4 separate regions of the Homo sapiens genome follow, and regions 2, 3 and 4 are each linked to region 1. Evidence: promoter capture Hi-C in human tissues and cell types (Jung and others, 2019). All regions are on one chromosome and are shown on one strand. The core of a region is centred on a gene start or on the middle of the fragment in contact, and the rest is flanking DNA. Distances in the headings are between cores, read along the strand shown.

What was found. Contacts are between HindIII fragments. The study calls those that stand out against the background at their distance.
Region 2: a fragment that was not itself captured here is called in contact with the fragment with the promoter of TWIST1 in region 1 in 1 of the 25 tissues and cell types used here (mesendoderm cells).
Region 3: a contact is called between a fragment that was not itself captured here and the fragment with the promoter of TWIST1 in region 1, in 1 of the 25 tissues and cell types used here (mesenchymal stem cells).
Region 4: a fragment that was not itself captured here is called in contact with the fragment with the promoter of TWIST1 in region 1 in 1 of the 25 tissues and cell types used here (aorta).

The regions. Positions count from the first base shown.
Region 1 is chr7:19,116,160-19,119,189 of GRCh38, forward strand. TWIST1 (twist family bHLH transcription factor 1) reads right to left here and starts at 1,477. Exons shown (of 2, transcript NM_000474.4): 1 at 512-1,477. The coding sequence starts at 1,162. The coding sequence ends at 554. RefSeq lists enhancers at 484-743, 767-1,550, 2,624-3,030. The HindIII fragment of the contact is 7,370 bases long and covers 1-3,030 here.
Region 2 is chr7:18,363,425-18,366,454 of GRCh38, forward strand. It overlaps a transcript of HDAC9 not described here. Among named protein-coding and RNA genes, the nearest start is that of HDAC9, 130 kb to the right of the region's middle. The HindIII fragment of the contact is 4,073 bases long and covers 1-3,030 here.
Region 3 is chr7:18,456,092-18,459,121 of GRCh38, forward strand. It overlaps a transcript of HDAC9 not described here. Among named protein-coding and RNA genes, the nearest start is that of HDAC9, 38 kb to the right of the region's middle. The HindIII fragment of the contact is 4,238 bases long and covers 1-3,030 here.
Region 4 is chr7:18,603,835-18,606,864 of GRCh38, forward strand. The region is part of intron 6 of HDAC9 (histone deacetylase 9); the gene reads left to right. Among named protein-coding and RNA genes, the nearest start is that of HDAC9, 110 kb to the left of the region's middle. The HindIII fragment of the contact is 8,609 bases long and covers 1-3,030 here.

The DNA of each region.
Region 1 (3,030 bases), core at 227-2,726:
GTCGGTTATTGTTTAGGTCTCTGCGGCTGTTTTCTAAGACTAGTGAGCACTGTTCTTATCACCACCACTGAGAAATTAAGCTGAACAACCTGGAAGGATTTCAGCCCAAGGGCAAGAGGAAGTGGGTGGGTGGAAAGGAGGAGGAGGTGGAATTTGTTTTAAAACATTTGTTTTAAGGAGAACAAAAATTGAAAGCCGAAAGAAAGGGTGGCGCTGACAAAACGGTCCTTACCCGTGACCCTGGGTGTCTCTGTCTCCCCTCCTGTCACGCACACTCACGCGCACACACACCCCTCACCAGGGCGCATCCCCCTGGAGACTGCTCTCCCTAGCGGGGTCAGACCGGCCTTCCGGGGACGCTGGGGGCGCGAGGCAACGGTGCCAAGTGAGGTGGGAAGGCTGAGCGGAGAGTGGGAGAGGGGAGGAAATCGAGGTGGACTGGGAACCGCGGCCTGGCCGGCCTGCCGTCTGCCACCTGAGAGGCGAAGGGGTGCAGCGGCGCGGTCCTTACCTAGGTCTCCGGCCCTGCTGAGGGGGTGGGGGGCTCCGCCTGCTAGTGGGACGCGGACATGGACCAGGCCCCCTCCATCCTCCAGACCGAGAAGGCGTAGCTGAGCCGCTCGTGAGCCACATAGCTGCAGCTTGCCATCTTGGAGTCCAGCTCGTCGCTCTGGAGGACCTGGTAGAGGAAGTCGATGTACCTGGCCGCCAGCTTGAGGGTCTGAATCTTGCTCAGCTTGTCCGAGGGCAGCGTGGGGATGATCTTCCGCAGCGCGGCGAACGCCTCGTTCAGCGACTGGGTGCGCTGGCGCTCCCGCACGTTGGCCATGACCCGCTGCGTCTGCAGCTCCTCGTAAGACTGCGGACTCCCGCCGCCGCTGCTGCTGCCGCCGCCGCCGCCCGCGCCGCCGCCGCCGCCACAGCCCGCAGACTTCTTGCCGCGCTTGCCCTGGGCCGGGCTGCCCGGCTCGTCGCCGCCTCCGACGCCCCCACCCGCGGCTCCGCCGGGCCCCGCGCCGCCGCCCGCGCTGCGCCTGCTGCTGCGCCGCTTGCGTCCCCCGCGCTTGCCGCTCGGCGGCTGCTGCCGGTCTGGCTCTTCCTCGCTGTTGCTCAGGCTGTCGTCGGCCGGCGAGACTGGCGAGCTGGACACGTCCTGCATCATCTCTCGAGCGGCGACGCGTGGCCTCGCGGGCCCGGGGCAGAGGAGAAGAGCGGGGCGCCTCAGCCCGCCAGCTTCCCCCGCGCGCGGCGCCGGCCCGGGCGATGCGGCCCGCGGAGGAGAGAGCAGGAGGACGGACGGGAGGGACCTCCGCGGGGAGGGCGCGCGGGGGAGGCGGGGAGGGAGGCGGGAGGGGGAGGGGACGGTGTGGATGGCCCCGAGGTCCAAAAAGAAAGCGCCCAACGGCTGGACGCACACCCCGCCAGGCCTCCTGGAAACGGTGCCGGTGCTGCAGAGCCCGCGAGGTGTCTGGGAGTTGGGCGAGAGCTGCAGACTTGGAGGCTCTTATACCTCCGTGCAGGCGGAAAGTTTGGGGGCAGCAGTGTCATTGGCCTGACGTGAGGAGGAGGGACTTTTCGAAGTTTTATAGGAAAGTTTCCGCTTTCCAGTCCCCCTCCCCCGTCCCACCTCCCTTCCTCGGGGTCTAACAATTCGTCCTCCCAAACCATTCAAAAACGACCTGGCCCGGGCGGCCGGCCCCTCCACCCGCCTCCTAGCCGCCCTCCCCCTTCCCTCCCCGTCGCCTTCCTCCGGCGGGCGCGGGGCGATTTCCTTCCCCGCCGGAGCGTGCGGGCAGCGCCCCCGAACCCTAGCGCAGCCCAGGAAGCGGTCGGAGGAGACTGTCCTGGCCGCGGTGGCAGCCCCATCCGGAGTGGCTGTGACAGCAGCAATGGCAACAGCTTCTACACAGTGGGTGATGTCTCATCTCGCCCAAGAGCCCTCTAGGTCCGTGGGGCCGATTTGGGATTGCTGGGGCTGGGGGGGTGGTGTGGCGCGGGGTGGGGGGGCATGCCAAGAAAAGTGTCAACCGCGGAGCCCACCCAATGGTCAGGTAGACGAACCCCTTGGAGTTCCAAAGGCCAAACCGCGGCGGCCCAGCCCGGAGGTCCTGGGCGTTTCTGAAGACGTGGCCGCGCCGCGGGGGCTGAGGATTTGCGTCCCGGCCTGCTCTCTCGCCCTTCTGGGCCCTCCTTTCCCCTCTACAACGACCCAGTCTGACGCTCCCCAACATCCAAAGGACTACGCCTCGGAAGGTGCTCGAAAGAGGCAGAAGTTCACTCTTCGGTGGAAGGAAACCCAGTCCATGGGAAAGGCAGCAGAGCCAGAGGGGGGCAGCGCAGCGCCTTTGCTGCGGCCCTAACAGCTGGCAATGCCAACCCAAGGGAGAGACCCTGTGGCCATTTCATCCCCACCCCCAAATTAGGCTCCGCATTGTGACCTTGAAAGGCCAGCTTGTAAGAGAGTGAAGTGGGAATTTGATAGCGCCTAGACATAGGGGCTGCCCGCTCTGAGACCCCCCCCGCCCCAGCCCCCACTATCTAGGGCATCCAGTGGACAATTAGGCTTCGTGAGCCCCAATTCCAAATGCTTGGATACGCTAACATTTTAAGCATTTCTGTCTGTAAGTTAAAACGAAGAGCCCCAAAGAGGGTGTTAATGTAGATCCTGGCAAACTGGAAGCAGCAAAGTTGGTGAACCAGAAAGGAAGTCGCCTTGGATAAGAAGCCCATCTTTTGCAATGCCATACTTGTTTCCTTTTTGAAATGAATTGAGGTAAAATAACCGTTTCAGGTCCATCCCTTACATGGCAAAGTAAAAAGCTGGAGTCAGTACACAGTGTTGGGGTGGGGGCAGCGTTTGGGGGCGACGAGTTTTGTGCACCGCGCTGGAGTACCCTGCACATAAGGTCCGCTCATGGGCTTCTCAGTACGGACTCGCCGGCGGGAACAATTAATTGAGCAAAGCGCCCCTTTCTGGGCTGGAGCAAGGTTCGCGGCTGCAGATATCTCAAGCTGAAGGCAAGAGCCCAG
Region 2 (3,030 bases), core at 165-2,664, 750 kb before region 1:
GAATTTGGCCTAGATTCGCAAAGAAAAAAATAAATTTTGGAGACTTCTGATGGTTCATTTTCTTAAGAAAGAAAGAAAATGTTGTTATTATTATTTGCATTTGGTACTGTGCTATGTAAATAAATCAGTGGCATCTAAGTTAGACTTGATTTTGAAGTGCTGTTATTGATTCACTAAGAACCACTAAGTTTCTCCATCTGCTTCCTATTTACAAAATGGAGATGTTTTCTGTTTCTAATTTGCCCCTCAGAAGTGCAGTGTTATAAGGATTAATTAGAGAAAGCCAATGGGCTGAACAGTGAGGAAGACATAAATAGAGACAAACGGGGACATTACCAGGTGCCTCCTCTTTTTGTTCATGGTTGATCTTCAATCTCAATTTTTTTATACAAAGGGCATCTCATTGTATTATTTGGTCCAATGACTTGCATTGAAAGGATACTGACTGCCCCAGAATTCATTTGCTTTTCTTAGTGAAATGCCTTAACATTAATATTTTTCAGGGTCTAACTTTTCCTAAAGATTTTCAGGTCCCAGAATTTCATTCTGAATGGTTGGGCTTTATCAGATTATTTTTCAATAGCAAGCCATTCACTCTTTTACAATGTCTATCTATAAAATTTCCCACAATAGTTCATAATCCTCTTTTCAGCAGCCTTTTCTCCTTCTTTATCACTTCTTTTGTCCACTTATTTTCAGGATGCAAAGTTGGCGTCACTGACTTGCTCATGGCTTCTTGAACATCTGTGTGAGGCAGGATTGCTGAAGATCCCAGGCTTTTGAGTTAAACTGCCTGGGGCTGAATCCCTGTTCTAATCTGGCTGTGCAGTGTTAGTAATGGTACCTCCATTTAACCATCTTTAAAGCGAAAAATTTCTCATGGATTCCTGTGAGGATTAAGATAATATAAGGTCTGCGGCACCGGCATATGATAAATGCTCAAAATAGTACTATTACTTGTATTAACATTAGAAATAAACATTTAGGCACAAGGAAGGAAAAAATAAGCAATCAGGAGGAAGAAAAAGAGCAGTCAGAAAATGGTGAGAATTAGCATGGGGTGTGTTTTGAAAGTAAAGAAGAAGAGACAGTCATTCGAAAATAGAGAATTTTCTATACCTTTGCTACTCAGAATGGCTCCTGGACCAGCAGCATGGGCACCCTGGAAGCTTTCCAGAAATTCAGAATCTCAGGCCCCCAAAGCCCCAGGAATCTAAATCTGCATTTTAACAAAATCCCCAGGAGATTCATTTTAAAGCTTGAGAAGGCCTGGTCTACAACCTAACATGCAGCAGAGTTGACAGATGAGATTAAGACTAAACAAACCTTCGAATTTTCCTGCTAGACCTTTAGTGGAGAAAACAGGGAGGAATGAATAGGTGGCAAATAAAAGAGAGAAATCAGGTATTGATAATTCTTTCAGGAAGCTCAAAAATTAATCAGGGTGAAAAAACGTTAGATAATACCTTTAAAATGTAGCAGAATCGAAGGGAAATTTATTTTTATGAACAAGAAAAAGTTGAGTCTGTGTGCAGGTGGAGCTGAAGTGTCACACAGGGTAAAAGATTGAAAAGTAATGAATACATGAAGACATGGATAGCTAAGAGATGGGGCAAAGAGTGTTTGAAAAACATTGACAGCTGGTAAGTTTCAGAAAAACACCTTCATAGACTAGTGCAAAGATGGAAAGAGTGAGGTCAATAAGAGAGAAGATATGTAATTAGGTGTCTTCAGGGCTGTTTGCTGGGAGTAAGTAGGGCAGGAATGTTATTGGTAGCTGATGTTTTGATAGGGTTAGAACCACTTTGGTGAGTGAGATAGAACTAGAGTTGTAAATAAATTTTAGATCTAGTGTGAACTCTGATAGGTCGGAGCTGCATGGAATATTGTGTTGAGAAGGCTTCTGAGGCCAACATAATATTAACAGATAAGAGCTATGTATGTCATGAGCAGTTCCTGGCATTATAATTAGGGAGACATAGTAGTGTATGCTCTGCACATTCACCATCCCTGGTATAAAGGATCTCCTGGCCTTGTATGAAATTATTGAGTAGAAATAAAGAACTATAACATGAAAGTGTGATGAATCATTTTTGCAGTATTTTGTCTTCTTTCTCCAATAATCCTTAGCCTAGGAATAGAAAATACAGACAAGGGACTAACGAGCAGTAATAAGCTTATTTTTGAAAGGCTTGACTTTTATAGTCTTTATGACTTTTTTTTTTAATAAAAAAGCAAATAAAGCCTACATTTGAACAATTTTATGTTTTAAAAAGTGTGGGCTCTTGTATAGAACAGACTATGGAATTTGAACATCACATCTACTACTTTTTAGCTATGCCTTTGGGCAAATTATAGTTAAGCATTTTCTAGAATGAAAAACTCAGTTTTCTGAGTTTAATATTAGTAGTAATAATAACTAATAGTAATTTCCAAATAGAGTTGAAGAGAAGATTAAATGAATGTAACATCATGCCTGATGAATTCTTCTGCTGGTTACTTTTATCCTTTAGTGTTGTTTTCAGTTGTTTTTTTTTTTCTGTCAATTTCTTCTCTATTAAAAATTGTTTTCTGTCACCACGCAAAGCAACCAGGAATCATAGATTATGGTTGAAAAATCAAATGGCAGGCTATTTGAAAAATATTTATTTCAAAATTTTATTTGAAAAAATTCCCCACTGCTATAATTTAATGCTTATTCCTAATCTCCTTAATTTCCGTTGCTTTATGTATTATATAGAGATAAGGTGGAGGGAAACTGATCATGGGTGATGATAACTGCAGAACTGCTGTAAGCAAGGCTTGTTCAGAAACTGACAAATCTATTACAAAGTGACTCATGGAAGTGGAGGTTCTGTCACAAACAGGGTCAGTTATTACTTGGCAGTATTCTGTGTGCTTTAGAAGAAAATAATGGGCTGACATAGCATAGAACTTTGGGAATAAAAGTTTCTGGATCATGGCAGTTGGCCCAGGACACCAGACCTAGAATTTGCACCGGTAGAATTTGTCTGCCCCAAAGTAACTGGC
Region 3 (3,030 bases), core at 229-2,728, 660 kb before region 1:
GCACATTTTATTTCCTTGCTGATCGTATTAGGTAAAATAATTACAGCTGAGCTAGAACAAATTTTGATAAAATAATTTCATTCTACCATAAATTAAGTCATTTGCATTATTTGTCCAACTTTACTTTTGATTTGATTTGATTGGTTGGTTGGTTGATTTTTTTGAGATAGAGTCTTTCTCTGTTGCCCAGGCTGGAGTGCAGCAGTGTGATCTCCACTCACTGCAAACTCCACCTCCCGGGTTCAAGTGATTCTCTTGCCTCAGCCTCCCAAGTTACTGGGACACAGGCACATGCCACCATGCCTGGCTAATTTTTGTATTTTTAGTTGAGATGGGGTTTCACCATGCTGGCCAGGCTGATCTCGAACTCTTGACCTCAGGTATCCACCCACGTCGGCCTCCCAAAGTGCTGGGATTACAGGTGGTAGCAACCAAGCCCAGCCCACCTTTAGTTTTTGAGCTTATATATACTCACCACTTTCATTCATATGATTTATGAACCTGAAAAACAGTTGATGGAAGATATTAGAAAATAAGATTATGTATAACATTACACTAAATTTAAGGTTTGGCCTCTCTATTTCAGTTATGATTTTCTCTACACCACCTCTCTTCCTGTGTCTATAAAATGGGAATAACAATCCTTACTGTGTACTTACTTAAATGGGATGATTCGCAAGTTCCTCGTTCACAAGAGATTTTTCAAATTGTTTTTTATTTTCTAAATTGAATATGCAGTGATGTGCCATGCAGAACTCTGGTTCCAAGTTAAAAATGTCCAATTCAAATAGCTGCAGGGTATTTATTGGCTCACATAAACGATGGCCCTGGAAGTAGAACCAGCTTTATATATAGCTATACTCGGGAGTCACACATAGTTTTATCCACCTTCAGTTTTGCTACAAATTGTGTTGTCCTCAAACTCAGGTTTTCTGGTATAGAAAGATGGCAGTGGAGCTCAAGTGCCTACCTTTTCTGAGACCTTAGTCTAGTAGATTTCCATTCCCAGGATTCCTTGGAGATACTTGTTGAATCTCAGAGATTTTGATTAACTCAGCATGTCCATTTCTTAACCCTTGCTAATGAGAAAGAAGAGAATAAAGCTTTTTTCATTTCATATCCCAGAAAATGTGCATGCAGTTCTGCTCCCATTTTTCCTACAGTATTTCAAGTGAACCACTCAGTGACAATCCCATCAACTTATACTGCCTTACTCTTTTAATTTAATATGAAATAGAACTGTCATTAACTGAAAGGGAAATTGCTTCAGTGAATATATTTGTGAAGAAATAAAATTGCTTCAGTGAATATATTTGTGAAGAAATAAAATTCATGAGATATTATAAATTTGATTTGCCTTCAAAATTTTAATTTAACTTTTAAAATTAGTTACAAAATATAGTTTTAAAAATAATCTAATTATTCATAAACTTTTAATTGAGAGTTTCTTTCTGATTAGTTGCTGTCTGCCCCTGTGCAGCTGACCCATTATATTTACAAATTGGTTGATCTCTGCATATAGGCCATAATAGTTTTATAAACTGTAGGTTATAAACGTCTGCTCTAATTAATTTTCTTTCATATCAACTGAATTTGATGTTGTTGAGGCATTAGTGAGTTTTTTAAAAATAGTTTACATAGAGCTTCATTTTGTTGATTAGTCAAAAGTATTGTTAAACTGGCTTCATGGTGTTTGAAATCACCTATTTTCAGGTGATAAGACTTTCTAAATTGATTTTTCCTTGTTCCTGGATGGGTCTTATTCTGCCAGATGGGAGTTAGATCACTTCCATTGAAAGAGAGTCTGCATGTGTTCCCAGAAGCACACACGTGTATGCAAATGCACACACTGACACTACAGAGTCTGGTTCGTGTGTTCTTTCTCACTATCTGAGGTTGTGTATGGCCATACACGCCTCAGATGGGGTTGGTTTTTATAAAAACGTTAAGGCTGAATCATATTTGTTGTATTGTGACATTTGCTGCCTTGCCATCAAAGAGTAGGTGCCTTTGTGCTGACAACTCTTTGGCATTTTGCCCCAGGGAAGTGTTGCATTATCAAAAGAGACGCTCACCCTCTCAGTGCCAGGGTGCTGGTAATTAAATCGTGGATGGTTGACCAGAATTCACAGGTGAAAATGATGAAAAGAATGTATTGAAATGAAAACCTGAACTAGGCAGCATTATATCTAATGAGCAAGAGGAGAGCTCTTTTAGGCTTGGTAACTTAGATGAGCATATGTGAACTATGGCTAATGCTTCTGATAGAAAATGGTTACTAGGAAACCATAAAAAACCCTCTAATTATGTGACCTCCAAGCTATACCAATAAATATAGAATTCAGATGAGTTTGTGCTAAAACCAGTAGTAACCCACTAATATTATTAATACTCTTGTAGTTTGTTTCCAAAGGAAGTAAGATTTATTGTCCTTTTAAGTACTGGATAACAATTCACAAAGATTGAATTTATTTAAAAGTTCATAGCCAATGCTACTGTGTTTTAACTGATGAATTTTGGTTTCCTTTTGCAGTGTTCTGTATCATGGCGAAAGGTCACAAAATAATATCTTGCTATCAAAACTTTTTTTTGTGGCTTAACTAGGCAAAACTTCGATTAATAAATGATAAGCTGTAGACCTCTACTCAGAGTAGTAACAAAGAGAGAGCTGGAGGTGGTGGCTCTTGCTTGTCACTCCAACTCCCATGGAGGGTCCTTCCTTCTTCAACCTGACTTTCTTATCCCCACAGACCTCATGTGGAACCTTGTACCATGGGTGCTATTCTGTGGCTGCTGTAGGATCTTCCCAGGTAGAACCAGACCTTATCCTTTTTCTTTGGTTTCTTGGGAGTAGAGCTGAACATGAGTGGGTGACTTCCTTTTCCAGGCTATTGGTCAAAGCTGCGGTCAGCAACAACTTGGCCAAGATATGCTTGACCCAGTTTTGCCACGGGCTACTGACCAAGAGGTTGCTGTTCGGAGTTGGCATGAGTCAGAGAAGCAGGTTACCAGCAGGTTACCAGCTGGGCA
Region 4 (3,030 bases), core at 283-2,782, 510 kb before region 1:
AAATGTCCTTAGTTTTTGTTTGTCCAAGAAAGTGCTTTATTTCTCCTTCTTGTTTGGGATAATTTGTGTTCTTTTTAAAATTTTTTTGGCAACATTTTGTACTATACTTTCTTTTTTATTCTACAGCTTATGACAGGACATCTGATCTAAATCTTATCCTTGTTGCTCTATAGATAAAGTTTTTCTTTTTTTCTATGGTTTCTTTGAAGATCTCTTTATCTTTTATCTTCTGCAATTTGAACATGATATGTCTCGATACTGAGTTTTTGGTATTTATATTGTTTCATATTCTCTGAGATTCCTGTATCTATGGATTGGTGTCTGTCATTAATTTTGGATAATTCCCAGCCATTATTATGTCAAATATTTATTCTTTCTCTCTTTCTTGTTATTTTGCTATTCCCATTAGGAATATGTTATACCTTTTGCAATTTTCTTAGAGTATTGGGGAATTCTGTTCCATTTAAAAAAATTGTTTTTTGCCTTTCTTTTTAGGGAGTTTCTATTGACATATCTTCAAAGTTATTGATTCCTTCCTTAGCTGTGTCCAGTCTACTGATGAGCACATTTGGACCTTTTTTTTTTTTCTTGAGACGGAGTCTTGCTCTGTCGCCCAGGCTGGAGTGCAGTGGCGTGATCTTGGCTCACTGCAAGCTCTGCCTCCTGGGTTCACGCCATTCTCCTGCCTCAGCCTCCCGAGAAGCTGGGACCACCACCACGCCCAGCTAATTTTTTTTTTTAATTTTTAGTAGAGACGGGTTTCACCATGTTAGCCAGGATGGTCTTGATCTCCTGACCTCATGATCCGCCTGTCTCGGCTTCCCAAAGTGCTGGGATTACAGGCGTGAGCCACCGCGCCCGGATAAGACCTTTTTTAAATTTCTACTGCTGTGCTTTTGATCTCCAGCATTCCCTTTTCAATCTTTCCTAGAGTTTCCATTTCTCTGTTTATATTATCCATCTGTTGTTGCATGTTGCCAACTTCCCATTAGAACCCTTAACATACTACTTTTAGTTCCTTTAAGTTCCCTTTCTGTTAATTCCAAAATTTGTGTCATAACTGAGTCTGGTCTGATGTTTGCTTTGTCTCTTCTGATTGTTTTTCTTGCCTTTTAGGATGCTTTATAATTTTTTGTTAAAAGCTTGACATGATATATTGGACAATAGAAATTGAGTAATTATACTTTTGATGTGAGGTTTTATGTTAATCTGGCTGGGGCTGGGCTTTGTTTAATATCTGTTGTAGTGGTAAATGTCAGAGTCTTCAGTTTTCTCTAGTTTCCTTTGATTTTTTTCCTTCTCCTATTGCTTTGGGGTTTCCCTAAGAGCTCCTTCTTAAATAGAATTTGTGTCCTGTAGCTCCCTCAGTTTTAATTCACTGTTATAATACAGAACCTGGTTGATGTGATGGTAAGGCGTTGGACAGGAGAAATGTTCTATAACCTTACAACTAAATTTCATTTTTTTAAGTGGGCCTGACTTTGTATGCTGTGATCCCTTGAACTACTTCTTAGCCTGTTTCCTCCCCTTAAGTAAGATAGGAAGCTGAGATTTACTAATTGCCTTCTCCCTTAGGTCAGATAAGGCTCTGTAAAATATTTTCCCTTGGAGAGTAGGCTGTTGTTATGAAGAATCCTTCGTGTGTATTTCAAAATTGTTACTTTTTCATTAGACAAGTATTACAAAATGGTTACTTTTCTTCCCTCTCCCACGCCTACTCCCTACCTTCACTTAAACAGAAAGGGATTTTTTTCTCATATATTCACTGAGAGAAACTGGTTGGGTTCCTGGAAGTAAAACCCATGAAAATGTAGGATTCTTCTGAGACTGGGCCCCTGGAGTTTTGTTTGTTTGTTTGTTTTTTGAGACAGAGTCTTGTTCTGTCGCCCAGGCTGGAATGCAGTGGCATGATCTCGGCTCACTGCAAGCTCCGCCTCCCAGGTTCACGCTATTCTCCTGCCTCAGCCTCCCGAGTAGCTGGGACTACAGGCGCCCTCCACCATGCCCAGCTAATTTTTTGTATTTTCAGTAGAGATGGGATTTCATCGTGTTAGCCAGGATGGTCTCCATCTCCTGACCTTGTGATCTGCCCACCTCGGCCTCCGAAAGTGCTGGGATTACAGGTGTGAGCCACCATGCCTGGCTGCCCCTGGAGTTTTTAACTCTCAAGCTGGTTCACATTCAGCCTCCAGCAATTCATGCCTCCAACACCTCATTAAAATTACCTCATTTAAATATTTCTTCGTTACTGACTCCATTGGCTTCTGCTCACTGTAAGCTGAACTCAGCTGTGATTTTCTGTATTTTCCTATTTCTCCAGATTTTAGCATGGCAGTTTGCCCTGCAACCTTAATTCTCTGATAGATCTACGAAAATAATTTTAATTTTTACTTTGTTCAGCTTTTTACTTGTGGTGAGGTTGGGAGTGAAAATTTCCCAGTTCTTCACATGTGGAAATGAAACCAGAAGACTACCACTTACTTTTAAATCTGTAAAACATTAAAAATACTTTTTAAAACTCAACTTTTTCATTTTTTGAGGTGACAAATTCATATTTGAGCAATATTATTCTTACAAATTAATGATTATATTTATTTTAAAGATTAACATCAGTGTCCAGCTTGCTCATGATTAACAAGTTCATATGCTAAAAACTGAGAGAGAGAAAATAGGTTGAAATTATTTTAAGTCACATTTTGTAAGCAAGACTTGGGAATTGTAAGGACTTTTTGTCGATTTTTGTCTTACTGTTTTCATAACATTAAACCATTTAGCAAGGTATGAAAATCAAACCAATTTTTGACCTGTATCAAATTAGAAAATTTTAGCTTCTTTTCAAAATAAGACTCACTTTTAAAGTAATATTTTTTTCTAGATAATAATTTACTTTTTAAGCATTCATTTTGATAGATGTAATCATTTAGATTATGAAAAGTTGGCAATTTCAAAAGAACATATTTAGTTGATTTTAAGATACTCATTTTTTAAACTAACATATCTGAAATCTGAATTGCTCTCATGGATGTTTAT